2 separate regions of the Homo sapiens genome follow, and region 1 is linked to region 2. Evidence: promoter capture Hi-C in human tissues and cell types (Jung and others, 2019). All regions are on one chromosome and are shown on one strand. The core of a region is centred on a gene start or on the middle of the fragment in contact, and the rest is flanking DNA. Distances in the headings are between cores, read along the strand shown.

Region 1 (3,561 bases), core at 258-2,757, 240 kb after region 2:
AACAAATAAGTAAATAAAATATAAGCTGGGCATACCAAGCACTGTGAATGGTATAAAGTGGGTGTTACAGAAGTAAGGAGAAAGGTGAGAATTTTCAGCTATGCTGATTGGCGAAGACAAACCTGAGGGAGTATTTGGATAGGACCTTACTCAGAGAATGGGTAGAACTTTAATACATAAGAAGAAAAGCAGGTATAAATGGGAGCTAAACATTGGTACACATGGACGGAGACGGGAATAACAGACACTGGGGACTACAAGGGAGGGGAGTGAGGGAGGAGTGAGGGTTGAAAACTACCTATTAGGTATTATGCTCACTCCCTGGGTGACAGGCTGAATCATAAAGCCTCAGCATCACGGTATACCCATGTAACAAACCTGCACATGTACCCCATCCCCTGAATCTAAAATAAAAGTTGAAATTAAAAAAGAAAAAAAAAAAAAAAAAGTCTGGGCGCGGTGACTCACGCCTGTAGTCCCAGCACTTTGGGAGGCTGAGGCGGATGGATCACCTGAGGTCAGGAGTCCAAGACAGGCCTGGCCAACATGGTGAAACCCCGTCACTACTAAAAATACAAAAATTGTCCGGGTGCAATGGCTCACGCCTGTAATCCCAGCACTTTGGGAGGCCGAGGAAGGCGGATCACAAGGTCAGGAGATCGAGACCATCCTGGCTAACACGGTGAAACCCCATCTCTACTAAAAATACAAAAAATAAGCCAGGCGTAGTGGCAGGTGCCTGTAGTCCCAACTACTTGGGAGGCTGAGGCAGGAGAATCACTTGTACCCAGGAGGCAAAGATTGCAGTGAGCTGAGATCGTGCCACTGCACTCCAGCATGGGTGAAAGAGCAAGACTCCGTCTCAAAAACAAACAAACAAAATACAAAAACTAGCCAGGTGTGGTGGCAGGCGCCTGTAATCCCAGCTATTCAGAAGGCTGAGGCACGAAAATCGCTTCAACCGGAGAAGCGGGGATTGCAGTGAGAAGAGATCGCACCACTGTACTCCTGCGTGGGCGACAAGAGTGAAACTCCGTCTCAAAAAAAAAAAAAAAAGAAAAAGTGAAGAAAAAGCAGTCCCCACTTTGACATGAGAACCCCTTATGGAAATCAGTTCTGATTCTGAGCCTGACAATTCCAAGAACAGAATCAATAAACCTAAGCCAATCTAAGAAGTCACCAGCAACTGTCAAGGGCCTCATAAGCGACCAAGGAAGTATCTCAGTGGCTGCTACGCACGTCAGGAAAGAGCACTGGTACTGGCACGGCACGTGCTTTCCATGGAACCTGGCAAGCCAGGCCTCTTTTCTATTAATAACTGAATATAAAACCCAAGATCAACTGAAAGGGAAAAAACACCCCGCCAGGATCCTGAGTGATTCACACAGTTGCCTAGAGAAGCCCATAGGAACAAATCAAATTCTTGTCCAGCAGACATAATTCTAGAGATTTCTTTCCTAATTATGTTCATGAATATTAATATATTCAGACAATAAAAGCTCATCTCCAAAAAAGCCCTTTAAAATTAAAAAGGCAGAGAAAGTTTTCAGTGTACATTTTCAAAGACTTCTCAACCCATTTCTTAGCTTCAGATAAGGTATTTAAGAATTTTCCTATTCCAATCCTGCAATATGATTTCATGGAAGGAAAATCCCAGCATGTCAGATCGCATATCATCAGACCCACAAATGCAGCCCCAAAGCAGCTCTGCCCGTGTGTGGAGGCAGATGGCCTGCAAAGCTGTCCAAGCCTCTGGACCACGTCCTCACCCGGGGCAACTGGTCCCACTGTTCTTTGTTCTTCATCTCTTCCTGCACTTCATGGATTCGCTTCAGAGACTCCAGACTTTCATCGAGCAAAAACGTCGTGTCGTTTATCAACATGTTTATATAGCGAACAAACTGCTTCCCGGAGCTGGAAAGGCAATTATATTGTACATGGTCATACATCTCCCTGAAGCAAAATGCCACAGCAAATCCCAGGGAACAAGCACCTCCACCCAGACTGCAACTATCTCACCCTAAAAGCCTGGCTACCCTGGCACAAGTCAGGCACTATGGAATTCAAGGACCACCAAGCTTCTCTTTAGATTATGTTAATCTTGTTTCTTTTTGAGACAGGGTCTCACTCTGTCGCCCAGCCTGGAATGCAGTGGCACAATCACAGCTCACTGCATCCTCGACCTCCAGGGCTCAAGCAATCTTCCTGCCTCAGCCTCCTAAGTAGCTGGAACTACAGGCACACACCACCACGCCCAGCTTTTGTATTTTTTGTAGAGACAGGGACTTGTTATGTTGCCAGGGCTGGTCTCAAACTCCTGGGCTCAAGCGTTCCTCCCACCTCAGCCCCTCAAAATGTTGGGATTACAGAGATGAGCCACCACACCTGGCCTGGATTTTGTTATTCTTTTAAATTGTTTATGATAAGCTCATTCCAGTGGTATTTGGAGCCACCTTGCACGGCTGATGACAGTCAAGTGCTAAATATTCCAGAATTTTATAACCAGATTCCCCTGGCACCTTAAATTGGGCAACAGAGGAAACAGTCACACCATGGAAAACCAGCAAATGCTGACTCCCCCACCCTGCTTCCCAGAGCAGGCTTACCAGCACACCCCTAGCTCACTCCCTCAATGTTTTTAAGGAGAGAAAACACTTCTTCCAGACTAGAACAGGAAAAACGCATATACTCACCAATATACCAAGAAAATGCAAATAATTAACCACATACAACAGATAAGAAAACAACTGATATAGTTATTCCTTATCACAAAGACTGACGCATGGAAGAAAAATTGGAACCTGTAATATTGATAAAGTGGGATATTAACTTACTTTAAAACTGGAAGCCTCCAATCTAAGGAACTGTTCTGCAGATCGTGTTATAATGAGAACTTGCTGGTGAACTGAAATAGCTTGGCCTACCTCTGTTAGACTCTGGAGATGCCAGATTCGTAGAGAAAAAAAGAAGCTACACTTCAGGGTCTACAACTGTGCAACTACGGGGTGGTAAGCCCATGCTGGAGAAGAGAAGTTCCTGTGAACAAGTGCAGGAGGCCTCGATCTCAGGAACATGGCAAGTTCAGGACAAGCGCTCCAATCAGCACCATTCAGACCAAGCCATGGGCCTGCCTCGTGCCAGGCTTTAGCTGGAACACAATTCTGACCATAAGAGCAGTTTATGGAAACAAAAAGTTAAAAAGTTTGCTTCACAGAAATCTATCTGGCAAATAGTTATTCCACTGGTAATTTGTATATTATTGACTAGTAATTCGGTTAACAAGTATAGCTAGATTTGATCAAAGATCTAACATGGGTTGCAAAAGATCCAAGTAGGTGGGATAAAATTTTTATTTATTTATTTATTTATTTGAGACGGAGTCTCACTCTGTCGCCCAGGCTGGAGTGCAGTGGCACCATCTCGGCTCACTGCAAGCTCCGCCTCCCAGGTTCACGCCATTCTCCTGCCTCAGCCTCCTGAGTAGCTGGGACTACAGGCGCCCGCCACCGCGCCCACCACCATGCCTGGCTAATTTTTTGGTATTTTTAGTAGAGACGGGGT
Region 2 (3,178 bases), core at 417-2,916:
CAAGTTAACCAACACTGCAACAGTTAAGCAATCATTTGGTCAGAGCTTAGCAGAAATTGAAAAAAAAAAATCTCTAGAGTTAAAAGAAGGAGAACTAAAGGAAGAAACCAAAAACAGCTGCTATCGTGGTAGCAGCTGAGAGCACAGCTGGCCTCACCAATTTCTCGATGAAATCATCCACAGCTTGCCCAGCCTTCACCAGGAGGATGATCCGCCGGGGCTTCTTCAGCTTGGAGACCATCTCTTTCAGGGACTGGGCACCCACCACTTTGGTTCCCTTTGCCTCATTGGCCAAGAAATCATCAACTTTGGAGACAGTCCTATTAAAAGCACAGACCTAGAAGGACAAAAGTCCTGAGTAGGAGATCCAGGACACACAAGACTTTCAGACTGTGGCCAAAGTAACAATGACCTTTCCATTCAACCCAAGTTCTGGGGAGGTCAGACCTGCCTTTGCCTTTTCTTCCCCCAGCTGTGGGAGGCTCACTGTAAAGTTATGTCACCTCAGTAGGATGAAAACGGCGGACAACCGAGGCGAAGGCCAACTACCCCCGGTGTGTCAGGTAGAATCCACACCCAACGTGTTAGGACTCAAAATCAAATCCAGGAACTGGCCGGTTCAACAGGCTCTATCTGTTGTTATTGATCATCCTGGCGTCTAAGCCACTTTAACATTTAGAAGAAACATTTTCACTCTCCCCAGATCTCATCAGGCAATCAAGTTAGAGCTCTACACAGCCAGCAAGGGTTCTCCTCCCGCACCCTTCTTCTCTACTTAAGACACTAATTCGTTCATTCGGGCTGTGAACCTCACGGACCCACAGGCACACTCCGCAGGACTAAGTTCGGGATCGGCCCGCCCACGCCTACAGGGTGCTTCTCCTTTCCATACAAAAATGCCACGAGCAGCAACAGAGCACATTAGCAAAGCACGGCCAGGAGACCCGTAAGCTCCCAAACCTATCGCCGGCCTCGGCTAAAGCGCCCGGGAACCAGAGAGAAGACAACGCGCCCACGCCGCTTACCACAAAGCCGTGGTCATTCATGTTCAGAATTAAGTTCTGGCCCATGACGGCCAATCCGATCAGCGCGATGTCAGCTCTAGAGAGGCAGAAACAGAACAAAGGAAAGAGTCAGCACCGCTCGACGCGCTGCAACCCAGGGGTCCGGTCCTTCCACATTTGGCCGTGACTGGGAGTCTGCACTTTCCTCCGCGCCTCCCGCGGGCCCCCAGAAGCCGGGCGCGCACGCTGCAGAGCCTCGGCCGGGCAGGCGGCCCCCAGCCCCGCCCTCGCGCCCGGCTCCCGCTGGCACGCGTCCCGCAGGTGTCCCTGCAGACTCGGCGAGGCCTGGCCGCGCCTCCTCCCTGGCCCTCGAAGGGACCCGCCCCGCCCCATGCCTGCGCGGCCGAGAGGGCAGGGGGCCGGGCCCGCAGGGAAGGAGCTCTGGGCCCGAGACGCCGTAGGGCCAGGGTCACAGAGCCCCAAGTGAGCTCAGGCGACCCCCAGGGTGGGAGGCGTCGGAGAGAACGAGGGAGATCTCGACCCCCAAAGAGTTCCCCGCCCGCTGAGGCCGAGCCGGGCTGCCCCTGGCGAGTCACTCACTGGGCCATGGCGGCGGACAGAGCAGAACCGAAGAGCGGCGACGCGCGGAGGACGAGTGAGGGAAAGACCCGCAGCGGCTCCCTCCAGAAACTGCGGCCGCTCACGCCCGGCTTTTCGGCGCCGGCCAATCGAATGGAAGGGGGTGGAGCCATGAAGCCACACCATTGGCTCTCCCCGACGCCTGTTAGACCATCCGAGGCAAACGTGCCCGCCCACCCCCGGGGGCCGGATCAGTGGAGCGCCGAGCACCTAGATGACATTGCCCCGGCGAGGCTCCGGGCTCCCCGCCCACGCGCAGAGCTTTCCGCTCGTCCCAGCTGCACCTCGGTCCTGCAGGCCGTCCGCCTGGCGCAGCTGTAGCCATAGCAACTCACGCAGGACCGCGCTTTACAGTTTACCAGGCACTCGGACGCCTTTGGCGCGAGCGCCCGTCGCTCCTTCCTCAGGTCACTGCGGTGCACCGTGCGGGTCCGCGTCGTGTCCTCCGCTCCGGAGCAGGGACCGGGCGTGCTCGTTCAGTCCTGTGCGCACTCGGAATGGGGCCGGGGAAGGCTGAGCCTCAGGGCGACCCTGATGTGGAGCCGTGCGACCGCTCACTGCGGTTGAAGAGACCCAGGCGCAGACAGCGCAGGCGGGGTATGTATTGGTTGGAGTATGATGGGGTCAGGACTTGAGTCTTTTACCCAGGCCCGGAGTTAACGGTATTGAACCCCTTCTCATTTTGTAGAGGCTATGTGACCCGCGAGATGGACCAGGTTAAATGCAGAGGCAGATACAAAAAACCAGCCATCTTAAGCCAGACATTTGCAAAGTAGCCAAGCAGCGCTTCTTATCTTACTGAGTCCCTTCTTGCTAGGAGGAAATTGTTATTCAGAAGTTTGAGTTTTAGATTTTTTTTGTTTTTTTTGAGACGGAGTCTCGCACTGTCGCCCGGGCTGGAATGCAGTGGTGTGATCTCAGCTCACTGCACCTTCCGCCTCCCGGGTTCAAGCAATTTTCCTGCCTCAGCCTCCCAAGTAGCTGGGATTACAGGCGCCCGCCACCACGCCCAGCTAATTTTTGTATTTTTAGTAGAGATGGGGTTTCACCATCTTGGCCAGGCTGGTCTCAAACTCCTGACCTCGTGATCCGCCCGCCTTGGCCTCCCAAAGTGCTGAGATTACCGGCGTGAGCCACCGTGCCCGGCCTTTTTTTGATGTCATTGTTGAGATGGAGTCTGGCTGTGTCTCCAGGCTGGAGGGCAGTGGCGCGATCTGGGCTCACTGCAACCTCCACCTCCCAGGTTCAAGCGATTCTCCTGCCTCAGCCTCCCAAGTAGCTGGGACTACAGGTGTGTGCCACCATGCCCAGCTAATGTTTTTATTTTTAGTAGAGACAGGGTTTCACCATGTTGGCCAGGCTGGTCTCGAACTCCTAACCTCAAGTGATCCACCCACCTCAGCCTCCCAAAGTTCTGGGATTAGAGGTGTGAGCCACTGTGCCCGGCCGGTTTTTAATTTTTATAAAGACCAGGTCTTTGCTCTGTTGCCCAGGCTGGAGTGCAGTGGCATGACCATAGCTTACTGCAGCCTTGA

The links. Contacts are between HindIII fragments. The study calls those that stand out against the background at their distance.
Region 1: a contact is called between a fragment that was not itself captured here and the fragment with the promoter of PGD in region 2, in 1 of the 25 tissues and cell types used here (hippocampus).

Annotation. Positions count from the first base shown.
Region 1 is chr1:10,159,495-10,163,055 of GRCh38, reverse strand. UBE4B (ubiquitination factor E4B) reads right to left here. Exons shown (of 28, transcript NM_001105562.3): 23 at 1,770-1,914. Among named protein-coding and RNA genes, the nearest start is that of KIF1B, 49 kb to the left of the region's middle. The HindIII fragment of the contact is 4,286 bases long and covers 1-3,561 here.
Region 2 is chr1:10,397,552-10,400,729 of GRCh38, reverse strand. PGD (phosphogluconate dehydrogenase) reads right to left here and starts at 1,666. Exons shown (of 13, transcript NM_002631.4): 1 at 1,605-1,666; 2 at 1,026-1,101; 3 at 158-337. The coding sequence starts at 1,612. RefSeq lists silencers at 900-1,076, 1,169-1,488 and an enhancer at 1,969-2,278. The HindIII fragment of the contact is 25,181 bases long and covers 1-3,178 here.